2 separate regions of the Homo sapiens genome follow, and region 2 is linked to region 1. Evidence: promoter capture Hi-C in 16 types of primary human blood cells and fetal thymus (Javierre and others, 2016). All regions are on one chromosome and are shown on one strand. The core of a region is centred on a gene start or on the middle of the fragment in contact, and the rest is flanking DNA. Distances in the headings are between cores, read along the strand shown.

Region 1 (5,701 bases), core at 1,945-4,444:
CTACCTTGAAATCAGGTGCTTCCCCCAGCAGTTCTCGCCCCCACCTGGCTGAACTCACTATCCCCAGGAGGGGTAGGGGCCACCCTAGCAGAAAGACCTCAGATACAGGATGAGGTCCATCCATGGAGAACCCAGGATAACCACAAAACATCCTGACCTGGGAGGCTGAATACTGGGCCTAAGGCAAGGAAGGTAAAGCATGGCCAGCTCCCAAAGACAACCTTGTGTCCCCATATGGCACAGATACCCAGTTGCTTTGCATGTTGTGACAGGGAGTAGGGGAGGGGCTGGGGGAGACTGGAAGTAGGGCTGAATGGAGGATGGGGAGGAAGCCAGGAGGAGCCATGGGTCCACGACCTCTAACTGGAAACCCCAAGGGCTGGACATGCTCTGGAGTTCAGTTTTTTGGGATTTTAGGAAGATGGGGTGTAAAATCTGTATATCACATAACACTCCCAGAAAGGGGGATGGGGGTCTCAGACATGCCCCTGTGAACAGAGATAATTGAACATTTATACGCAAGGAAACTTTTAAATATCATTTCAGTTGAATGAGCTTTTTAGATTTCAAAAAAGGAGGGAGCAAGAAACTGGACATAAAACCTTACCCCAAAAAAGGCACATGTCCTGCCTGACCCTTCCTGATCCCCAAAGACATACACCCATCCTCAGACTACTCTCATACTCAAGGATACTCAACACACCAACCACTAAGGACTTGGTCATCGCACCCTATGTCCTGATCCCCATTAATACACGCTAGACCCTCAAGGAGGCCTCACTACATCTTACCTGCTATTATCTCATATACCCATCAGCATTCAAAGCCCTAACACATAACATACCGCCCTGAACTCTGTCAGCACACACTTAGCCTCCTCTAAGTAACTCTTGCCACCACATTCTTGGGCCCCTCCCTGGCCTAGCTGCTTGTTACCTTCTCCATAGTACTGACTCCCCTCATTAACGTACTGTTCCCCCTACATGATTCTGACCTCTATTAACATGCACTTGGGGTACTCTATAGCTGACCCACATTAGCACTCACTGGACCTTCTTCATGCTGCTCTGAATGCTATTAACATAAAGTGAACCTTACAGATAGATCTCTAACCAGTGTTACCCACACTCAGGCCCCTTCACAGCTACGACCATCCTTAACACACATTCCAGTCCTTCCACTGTCCTGTCCCCTCTGTCAGCACAAACTGAGTCTTCACTCAGGCCTGATTTCTATTAGCACACGCCGGGCCTCACACAGTCCTGCCTCCCCATTAGTGCACCCTGAACCCTTACTCAGCCCTATTCCGCAGGGACACACAAACACACTGTTCTACCATGGCCTGACCCTCATTAGTGCACACAGGTCTCATTCAGCCCTGACTCCCATTAGCACACACTTCAGCCCTCCCTAGCTGTAATCCACTTTAGCACACCGAGATCATCACACATTCCTGTCCTCTATTGCTCTCTGCTCAGAGATATCTCCACAGATATAATCCTTGTTGGTTCACACTTAGATCCCTTCATGAAAGCCCTGATCCCCCTTATTACACACTAGATCCCCTCCGCAGCCCTACCCCCGAGTAGCACCCCCTGGAACCTCAACATACTCTGGTCCTCCGCGGACACAAGGGCACAATCTTCACAAGGTTCTGATGCTTATTAGCATATTCCAGACTTCACACAGCTGACTCTCGAAATGGCACACATTGAAGTGCCTCTATGTCTCTAAACCCACATTAGCAACCACCAGTACTTCTATTACCCTGCTCCTTCCTAGTGTGCCCTCGAGACTCACATTCCCTGTGTCCATGGACACACTCACACCTCACATCACCTTTACCCTTCGTCCACTAAGCCTCTGACAGTGCTAAGACACTTCCCCACCACTCCTTCCTGGGCCCAGACAGACACGCAATTCTCATCTCCTTTAGGCCAGGCTCAGGTATTCCACAGTCCTTCCTCCGTTAGATACCCTCAGGTCCTTCCTCCACTCTGCCCTCATTAGCATATACTGGGTCCCAAACTACCTAGACCTTCGAGGCCACAGGCATACACCCTCTACAGCCATGACCCCCACTGGCGCACACACCACACTCGAGTCCTTCAGCTACCTGCCCTCCACAAGCACACACTGCATTCTCACACACTGCAGGCCCCACGGACAGACACGCAGTATTAACACCATCCAGGGCCTCATCGCCACGCACCAGGCCTCAGAGCCCTGACCCCACCAACACACGTTCTGGTACCTGTGCCACCCTGTCCCCCATGAACACACACCGGGCCTCTCTGCGGACATAATCCCTATGAGCATGTCTTAGAACTTCCTCGACACCCTACCCCCCGTTATACACCCTCGGGTCCCTCACCCGCTCCGCACCCCGCCCTCCTTCCACAAGCACACACGGGGCCTTGAACCTTACACGACTTATTGGCGTGAGGCTTACTGCCACATGCTCCGACCCCCATCAGCAACCCCCCCAAGTCTTTCACCCCATTGTCACCCATTTCCACACCCTTTGGTCCTTTGACTCCCCCAGGTCCCCATTAGCACCCACAGCACTACCCAACCCCAGCTCCCAGGACAGGCCCAGGGCGGGGCCAAGGTCAGGGAGGCCCCAAATGACCCCCCGCCCCGGTGCATTCTGGGAAATTCGCCGGGGGTGGGGGCACCTGCCAGCCCCGCAGCCCAGACCCCTGGGCACCGCCCGAGGTGGGTTCTGAAGGAGGAGGGGCAGCCTCCACGCCTCGGGGACGCGCTCACCGGCGGGGGCGCGCGAGCAACCTCAGAGCCGCGGGGCCGGCGCGGCGGCGCCTGGGGCGGCGGCCCGGGATGAGGCCGCGCGACCTCCTTCTCCTCCTGTTCGCCGCAGGCGCCCGTCCCAGTAGTCTTCAGCCATGGTTGCTGGGCCCGGGCCGCCGCCGGCTGAGGAGGAGGAGGCGGCGGCGGCGGCGGTGGCTGAGGCGGAGGCGGCGTCCCGCTCAGCCGGCCATGAGCTTGGCCGCTGCGGGCGATGCCCCCGGACTCGTTGGCGCCGGCTTGAATCCGAGTGCTCACGGCGGCTCGCGGCACAGAGCGGTCTGATCGCGGAGTGGCGGCGGATCCCAGGGCCGAACAGCCAACGGCCCAACCGCCGCGCGCGCCGCGCTCCGCGCATGCGCACGCAGGCGCTCGGAAGGGTGAAGTGGAAAGGAGGGGACTCACCTCGGACTGCATGTACCAAAGGACCCGTCCGCAGCGGGAGGGGACGCGGCCATCGCGAGCCCAGAGGAGGATGCGGCGCCAAGCCGGAGACGGCACCAGGGAGAACTGTGGAGGCTGTTTAGTACTCAGTTCCGATCTTGGCAGAAGTTTGCTAGCGCCTAGGTGAGCAGTGGCCAGTAACCTGGCGCGTCAATCACCACTCGTTCCCCCTACTCGGTCTCACTTGGTACATCCCCATGGTGGCAAACGGGACTTTTGCAAGGAGGAAAAAAGACAAATGAAGCACTCAGTTCTAGTCCCTTGAGGTGCTTGGGGAGGAAGGCATTTTAAAGGTTCGCGAGAAGATGACTTTTCGAGGAGAGGCAGCCTGAAGAGTTATTGGCCTTTACCACCTTAGCTAGGACGGCCTATCCCCGCCCAACTGCCCCCTCCACCGCTACCTCATTCCCGTAGTGAACGTGTGCAGCCCCGCCCTTTGAGGTTGTCGCCCAGCCAATCTGATTTGCTCTCTGTGGCGAGGCCGAGCAAGAATAAAGGGCGTGGCTGACTGAAGAGGCGTGATTTCGCTCTCTACCCGACTCCGCACGCCTCCGCCCAGGTTTCATAGGTTTTCACCGTCGGCGGGGGTGGGGTCTCCTTTTTGTTCTGAGCTCCTCCTTCGCTATAGGCCGAATATTCCGCAAGGTGATTGGTCATAATTGCGCTCAATCGAGTCTCGTCCCGCCTTTAGCCCGCCCTCCATCTCATACAGCGGGCCTCCCGGGGTGGAACCCAGGCTGAGAAAGAAGGAAAGAGGCGGATCCTTAGAGGCGCAGGAGCCGCTACTGCGCATGCTTGGAACTTCGAGCGGGGCGGAGCCTCTTTTCTGCCTCACACGAGTATTTGCATAGGCGCCGTGCGTTGGATTTTCCTGCCACCTCTCTTGCCCGGCACAGCCCCTCCCGTGCCTCCCCTCACTCTGAGGGTTTTTTGTTTTGTTTTGATGTCAGTCAACACAAGTAGAACACTCCGCGGTTTTATTTCCATTTTATTTATTGGGCGCATGTTGTGTGCCAAGTACTACCAGGCCGACCTAATCCTTCACTTCCTTCTGCCTGGAAAACCACACTATCCCCAAGTCCAGCTCAAAGGGCTGCAACCTCCAGCAGGCCTTCTGGCACATCCTTACACTACCCTGTTCCAAGGCAGCCTCCCCGCCTCTTCCGGGCTTCCCTTTATGGCAGCCTTGATCACAGCAGTTAGGATTTTCAGTAAGGTTTACATTAGTGAGATTTCCCGGGCCATGATGGGAGTGGAAATATTTGACAAAGATAAAAGTCCTCGCCTTGGCATAGAACAGGCTCATCACTTCTCTGACCTCATCTCTTCCTCTTCTTCCCCTGACTCACTGCCACCATACTAGCGCTCTTTCTAGCTGTTTGAGTGAAACGGGCACAATCCAGCCTCAGGGGTTTTGCATTTGCTGTGGTTCCCTTTGCCTGGAATGCTGCTGGCCCACATCCACGTGCCTCATTCTCTCACTTCTTCCAGGTGCTTGCTTCAAAGTCATCTCCATGAAGCCTTTCCGATTTAAAAATTCCTACCTGCACTGCCATCATTCCAGATCCCCAGATCGGGCTCTATTCCTCGCCTTTTGAAGAGCACTGATCAACTTCTAAGGTACAATTTGCTTACTGTGTTTATAATCTATTCTGGGTGTCAACCTAGCAGAACGTAAAACCCCAAGAGGACAGGGATCTTTGTTTTATCCACTGCTGTCTCACGTGCCTAGAAAGTGACTGGCACACAGCACACAACAAATGTTTGTTGAATGCCTGCCAGAGCAGGCCAAGAAAATAAAATGATCAGAAGGAGGTGGGCAAATAGTTCCAGGCAGTGACAAGAGAAACCTTTGTCCCACCCTATCCTTTGTGGCTGCTGGGTGCAGGGGGCTCGGTGCAATGACGCAACCCCCGCCTGCTAAGCCCTGATCTCCCATCTGGCTGGTGTTAACAATGGTAGACTGGTAGACAAACCGCAGAAGTAAAATGGAATGAGGTGGAGGGGGAACAACTAAGATGCAACCAGGATTCATGCATGACTCAAAAGCTTGTTTTGATGGAGAAGGGTGTCAGGCACGAATAAGGTGTCAAGGAGATCCAGGAGTTGTGGTGGGGAAGACATGGAGCCGTAATGGGGGAGGTGCAGTGAACAAGGTGTCTATAGAGTATCCGCAAAGGAGCTGGCATACTGGAGAAAGAAGACAACAGTTGTGTTCAAGCCTCAGCTGCTGTAGTGGTGTGGCCAGTGGACTGCGGTGTGGAGTGTCTAGGGTACTCTAGAGCAATAATGGGAAAGTTCCTGTGGTGGGAAAAACTTTCCCTTTGACAGTATCACCACTAGATACCAAAGGGAAAATGCCTCTGTCCTCAACGTCCTAGTGGGGAAGAAGAAACTGTGGAAGGATAAGGTCACCCAAGCAGAGCAGGCCAAGAAAATAAAATGATCAGAA
Region 2 (6,624 bases), core at 3,831-6,330, 320 kb before region 1:
TCTAAGCCCACCCCTCACAGGTCCTAAAGTAAGAATCCAAATAGAAGCCACACACCACATATATTAATATTTACAAATTATTAATAAAACTAAAAATTTCCATCCCTTCCCTGGAACCCCAAGCAACCACCAATTATTTATTTATTATAGAGATGGAGTCTCACTATGTTGCCCAGGCTGGTCTTGAAGTCTTGGCCTCAAGTGATCCTTCCGCCTCAGCCTCCCAAAATGCTGGGATTACAGGCATGAGCCATCATGCCCAGCCAACCACTGATCTTTTATTCCCTCATCAGTTTCACCTTTTCCAGAAATGTCATATACTTGGAATCACAGTATGTAACCTTTTAAACTGGCTTCTTTCACTTAACAATATTCATTTAAATATCACCTGAGTCTTTTCATGGCTTAATAGCTAATTTCTTCTTTTTATTTTAGAACATCTTAAATTTTTAATCCTTATTTACAGGTTACCTCGACCACTTCTGATTGAGAAAACTAGCAGCCAAGTGCAATGGCTCACGCCTGTAATCCCAGCAATTTGGGAGGCCAAGGTGGAAGGATTGCTTGAGCCCAGGAGTTCAAGACCAGCCTGCACAACAGAGTGAGATCCCGTCTCTACAAAAAAATTAAAAATTAGCTGGGTGTGGTGGTTGCCCGCCTGCGGTCCCAGCTACTTGAGAAGCTGAGGTGAGATCTCTTGAGCCCAGGAGGTTGAGGCTGCGGTGAGCTGTGATCACACCCCTGCACCCCAGTCTGGATGACACAGGGAGACTATCTCTAAACAAAAGCATACAGGGTAAAATTTTAGCAAGTGAGGAATCTGGATAGAGGATATACAGTTCTTTGTTCTATTCTTACAAGTTTTCTGTTTGAAATTATTTCAAAATAAGCATTTTATTTTATTATTTATTTATTTATTTAGAGGCAGAGTCTCGCTTTGTCGCCCAGGCTGGAGTGCAATGGCTCAATCTTGGCTCACCGCAACCTCCGCCTCCTGGGTTCAAGCAGTTCTCCTGTCTCAGCCTCCAAAGCAGCTAGGATTACAGGCACACGCCACCACGCCTGGCTAATTTTTGTATTTTTAGTAGAGATGGGGTTTCACCATATTAGCCAGGGTGGTCTCGATCTCCTGACCTCGTGATCCACCCACCTCAGCCTCCCAAAGTGCTGGGATTACAGGCGTGAGCCACCGCGCCCAGCCTTATTTTATTTTATTTTATTTTTATTTTTTTGAGACAAAGTCTCGCTCTGTCGCTCAGGCTGGAGTGCAGTGGTGCGATCTTGGCTTACTGCAACCTCCACCATCTGGGTTTAAGAGATCCTTGTGCCTCAGCCTCCCAAGTAGCTGGGACTACAGGCACCTGCCACCATGCCTGGCTAATTTTTGTATTTTTAGTAGAGACGGGGTTTCACCATGTTGGCCAGGCTGGTCTCAAACTCCTGACCTCAAGTGATCCACCCGCCTCAGCCTCCCAAAGTGCTGGGATTACAGGCGTGAGCCACCGCGCTCAGCACAAAATAAGCATTTTAAAATGCAAAACAAAATATGGTGGAAAAGAGAAGAAATCCCCTATCTTGGAACTAAAGAATGCCTACAAACATACTTATTCTGTATGTCTACATATATGTACATAGGACTTCCATGTCAGCAGGTTTGGCTCAAGGGTTTCCTGGCCCTTCCTTGTACTCACAGTTTAGAGAAGCCCTCCGTGTCTGCAATGGGTTTGATGACTGGGCCCATCCACGGGTACTGAGGAAGGCAATGCCCAGAGGGCAGAGGCCAGTTAAGGTCCAAGGAGATGAGGTCTCCCTGAAGAATAGTTGGAGGACTAAAGAATGAGTGGGGCTTAGCCAAGTGACAGCTGGGGTTGGAGTGATAGTAACAGTTCCAGTTTCCTAAGAAGAGGGGCTTGTGATCTAGATGAGGTCCCTTTTTCTTCGGAGGGTTGGGGAGTTCATGGTATGAAAAGTATCTGAATCTCTAAATATTTGTGGAATAAATGGGTAAATGATCCTTTCATTCAAAATATACTTTAATGACAGAAAGTCATCAGACAGGGTCTTCTCTTCCTTGAAATCAAGATAAAAATAACGGCACTTCATGGTGCAGTGTTTTTCATTTCTTTCTGGAAAAGATATCTGTACCCTCTGCACATAAGTGGGTGCTTCTACTTTTTGGCTACAAGGGTTAAAATGATCAGTTATATATATATAGGCTAAATAAATTACTTTCTTGTATATTATTTTACACATAAGCACCCACTTATGTTCTAAAAATTCTTTTAATACAGATTTTTAAAAATTGCTCCAAGTGTTTTTAATCTTTTTGATGGGCATATATTTACTTCCTGTCTCTTGCCTTTTTGTTGTTGTTTGTTTGTTTGTTTTGAGACAGACTGGAGTGCAGTGGCGCGATCTCGGCTCACTGCAACCACCGCCTCCCGGGTTCAAGCAATTTTCGTTCCTCAGCCTCCCGAGTAGCTGGGATTACAGGCGCCCGACACCACACCCAGCTAAGTTTCGTATTTTTGTAGAGAGAGGGTTTCACCATGTTGGCCAGGCTGGTCCCGAACTCCTGACCTCAAATAATCCACCCACCTTGGCCTCCCAAAGTGCTGGGATTAAAGGCATGAGCCACCACACCCAGCCGCTTTTTCAAACTATATTTTCTCTTTCTGAAAAGAGAATATTCAAAATAAAAGAAACACGATAATGGTGTAAAATCTGGGAAATTAAAGAATGGAGTGAAATAAGCCATAATCTCTTTAGTAGTAATCATGGTTTACCATTGTGATATATTCCTTTTTAATGCATTTTCCTCTGAAGGCTTTATATGTCTCTATATCTTTTAAATACATTTTAAAATGAGAATAGGAATCTGAGGGGAATAAAAGCTGTAATATAAAATACGCGCAGGCTCATTCACATGATGGAAATGTTTTCCAGAGCCACTGGGTATTCTTAGAAACCATTTCTACCGCCGCCTAGACTAAAAGGAAGTGCAGACACCGTCAGTTGTTAGCTGACCGGCTGCAACTGGAACCTGAGAGCCCTTTGGCTGGAGTGTGGGAGGAGAGGAATTCTCGTTCCTGATTTGCTGATTGGTGTCTGCAGTGTCTTCTGTGTATGCCTGACTGTGGCTCAGAATACAGGGCCCTCTGCTGGGCTATGTGGAAAATTCCATCCAGGGAATTTTCTGGAAAGAACCGAGCCATGGAGAATGTAGGGGAAATATTCTAAGAACTAAAGAAAACAACTAAGTACTCATTTGACTTGATACAAGTTGGAAACTGCTTGGCAGATACAATATTGACGTGGTCAAATTAGAAAGCTCACCCCCCACACACACATCCACCCTCCTTTTTGTTATAAACATCTGAGATGTACTGCTGTGTGAAGTTTATTTTTAAAAGTTAATGACTAAAATGGGCCGGGCACAGTGGCTCACGCCTGTAATCCCAGCACTGTGTGAGGCTGAGGTGGGTGGTGGTGCACACCAGTCATACCAGCTACTCGAGAGGTTGAGAGGTAAGAGAATTGCTTGAACCCTGGAGGCGGAGGTTTTAGTGAGCTGAGATCGTGCCACTGCACTGCATCCTGCTAGACAGAGCGAGACTCTCTTAAAAAGAAAAAAAAGAGTTAGTGACTCAAATGGTACACTTTTATCATCACTCTGGAAAGCAAAACTGTGTAATTTTAAATATTCATACGTTTATTATCTTCAAAATCTAAATGAACTTTTGTTTTTTATTTGTTTTTATTATTATTATTATTATTATTTTGGGACAAGATCTCGCTCTGTCACCTAGACTGGAGTGCAGTGGCGCTATCATAGCTCACTGCAGGCTTGAACTCACAGGCTCAAGCCATCCTCTCACCTCATCATCCCCCCCACCAACTGCAGCCCCACCACCACCTCAGCTCCCCCACCAGTAGCTGGGACTACAGGCGTGCACCACCATGCCTGGCTAATATTTTTTATTATCTTTGTAAAGACGAGGATCTCCCTATGTTGCCCAGGCTGGTCCCAGACTCCTGGGCTCAAGTCATCTTCTGTCCTTGGTCTCCCAAAGTGCTGGGATACACCCATGAGCCACCGCACCCAGCCTGTTTTTTTTTTTAAATATTAAACTTCCTATCCACCTGGAGTAGTGTAAACTTGTTCTGTGATTTGGCAGTTTTCTTCTCAGAATCACTTGTCTCTAGCCACATGTTGGAGCAGAGAATGTCATGAAACCATTGGTTTAGGTGCTGGGTGTAGGCTCATTCTTTGCTCCTCATATAACCTAGTTAGTTAAGATATTAACAAAAGAGAAGAGGGTAATATCTAAATATAGACTTTTATATAATGAGATACTAATACATCCATTAAAACAAATGCACTCACTTGGAAAGATGCCATTATTTTACTGCCAAGTGAATAAAAATAGCTTGCAGAGCAGTAAGTACTCACTGATCTCATTTTCCTTAAAAAAATTATCTTGGTATAAGATCAGCAAAATGTTCCAAAGCACATGCAAAGAATTAAAATTTTGGGGGGCCTAATTCATTGCTTTTTTTTCGTGACTTCTAATTTGTCAATTATAAAAATATTTTCCCTGGCTGGGCGTGGTGGCTCATGCCTGTAATCCTGGCACTTTGGGAGGCCAAGGCAGGTGGATTGCCTGAGCTCAGGAGTATGAGACCATCCTGGGCGACATGGTGAAACCACATCTCTACTAAAAATACAAAAAAAAAAAATTAGTCAGGCGTGGTGGTGGGCACCTGTAGTCCCAGCTACTTGGGAGGCTTAGGCAGGAGAATTGCTTGAACTCAAGAGGCCAAAGTTGCAGTGAGCCGAGCTTGAGCCACTGCACTCCAGCCTGGGCGACAGAGCGAGACTCCGTTTCCAAATATATATATATATATTTTTTTTCCCCTAGTTTTAACGTAATACTCCCAAGTTTGTTGATTGGTTTTATTTTTTATTTATTTATTTTTTTTGTTTTACATTCAAAGCTTCTATCCAGATGAAATTTATTTTGGCATGAGGAGTAAGATAGACATTGAATTTTCTTTTTTATTTCCCCAAGTAACTGCTAGGGGACCCTAGAAATAATTGAAAGTTATTTGAATTTCTCAGGAAAATAGCACTTTGAAGTTCTCAGTTAGTGAAAGCTTTCAAAGGAAGAAAATTTTCAGAACCCTTTAAATATTGCACTTAACTGGGCATGATGGCTAGCACCTGTAATCTCAGCTACTCCAGAGGCTGAGGTAGGAGGACTGCTTGAACCTGGGAGGCAGAGGTTGCAATGAGCCGAGATCAAGCCACTACGCCAGCCTGGGCAACAGAGGGAGACCCTGTCCGTGAATTAGGTCAGTCTTGCATTGCTATAAAGAAATACCTGAGACCGGGTAATTTATAAAGAAAAGAGGCTTAATTGGCTCACAGTTTTATACAGGACTGTACAGGAAGGAGCCTGGGGAGGCCTCAAGGAGCTTTTACTCATGACGGAAGCCAAAGTGGGAACAGGTATCTCACATGGCAGAGCGAGAGCAAAGGGTGGGGAGGTGCCACACACTTTAAACAACCAAATATCTCGTGAAGTGAACCCACTCACTATAGCGAGGACAGCACCAAGCCATGAAGGATCTGCCCCCATGACCCAATCACCTCCCACCAGGCCCTACCTCAAACATTGAGGATTACAATTCAACATGAGCTTTGGCAAGGACATATATTCAAACTATATCACCCCATCTCTAAAGAAAAATTTGTAAGTAAATAAGTAAAAATAAATATTTGCACTTTTTTTTTAAAGATGCCCAGGCTGGAGTGCAATGGCGTGATCTCGGCTCACTGTAACCTCCGCCTCCCAGGTTCAAGCGATTCTCCTGCCTCAGCCTCCCGAGTAGCTGAGACTACAGGTGCCCGCCACCACACCCAGCTAATGTTTATACTTTTAATAGAGACGGGGTTTCACCATGTTGGCCAGGATGGTCTCGATCTCTTAACCTCATGATCCGCCCGCCTTGGCCTCCCAAAGTACTGGGATTACAGGCATGAGCCACAGCACCTGGCCGGTTTTTCTTTGTAGTTTTAGTAGAGACAGGATTTCACCATGTTGGTCAGGCCAGTCTCAAACTCCTGACCTCAGGTGATCCGCCTGCCTCGGCCTCCCAAAGTGCTGGGATTACACATGTGAGCCACTGCGCCCAGCCTTATCTCAACTTTTTATATTGATTACATGGTGAAATGATAACATTTTGGATATAATGGATTAAATAAAATATATTAAATTATTTTAAAAAATCAGTAGTTTGCGGAAAGGCACTTTGAGATCTTGTAAACATTCTGTTCCTCATCAAATTTTCAATGTATTCATTTATTTATATCAGTATGGACTCATGGTTCCCTATTTTATTCTATGAGTTATAGGTTATTTTTTATTTTAAAAAATTTATATTCTTTTCATCACATAAATTGGGATAGCGATGGAGAAGAATGAAGTACTGCAGCAGATCTGAATAGTCATACAAGTGAGTATGTAGAATATATGTTAGTTACCCCAGAGCATGAAGAGTGAAATTCTCATGAGCTAAACATTCACATGATGGATTTTACGGTGTTACTGTAAGTCCACC

Evidence for each region. Contacts are between HindIII fragments. The CHiCAGO score rates a contact against its expected background, and 5 or more counts as called.
Region 2: a contact is called between a fragment that was not itself captured here and the fragment with the promoter of CDK16 in region 1, in 10 of 17 cell types (total B cells, monocytes, megakaryocytes and 7 more). The highest score is 12.5, in total B cells.

The regions. Positions count from the first base shown.
Region 1 is chrX:47,216,174-47,221,874 of GRCh38, reverse strand. CDK16 (cyclin dependent kinase 16) reads right to left here and starts at 3,194. Exons shown (of 16, transcript NM_006201.5): 1 at 2,770-3,194. It overlaps LOC105373194 (a long non-coding RNA gene), which reads left to right and starts at 3,225. Exons shown (of 3, transcript XR_949047.4): 1 at 3,225-3,372; 2 at 4,741-4,869. RefSeq lists silencers at 2,681-2,750, 2,761-2,870, 2,891-3,050, 3,751-3,860 and enhancers at 2,468-3,107, 3,251-3,320, 3,441-3,560. The HindIII fragment of the contact is 18,663 bases long and covers 1-5,300 here.
Region 2 is chrX:47,537,787-47,544,410 of GRCh38, reverse strand. No RefSeq gene overlaps it. Among named protein-coding and RNA genes, the nearest start is that of ARAF, 20 kb to the left of the region's middle. RefSeq lists an enhancer at 2,927-3,221. The HindIII fragment of the contact is 159 bases long and covers 5,001-5,159 here.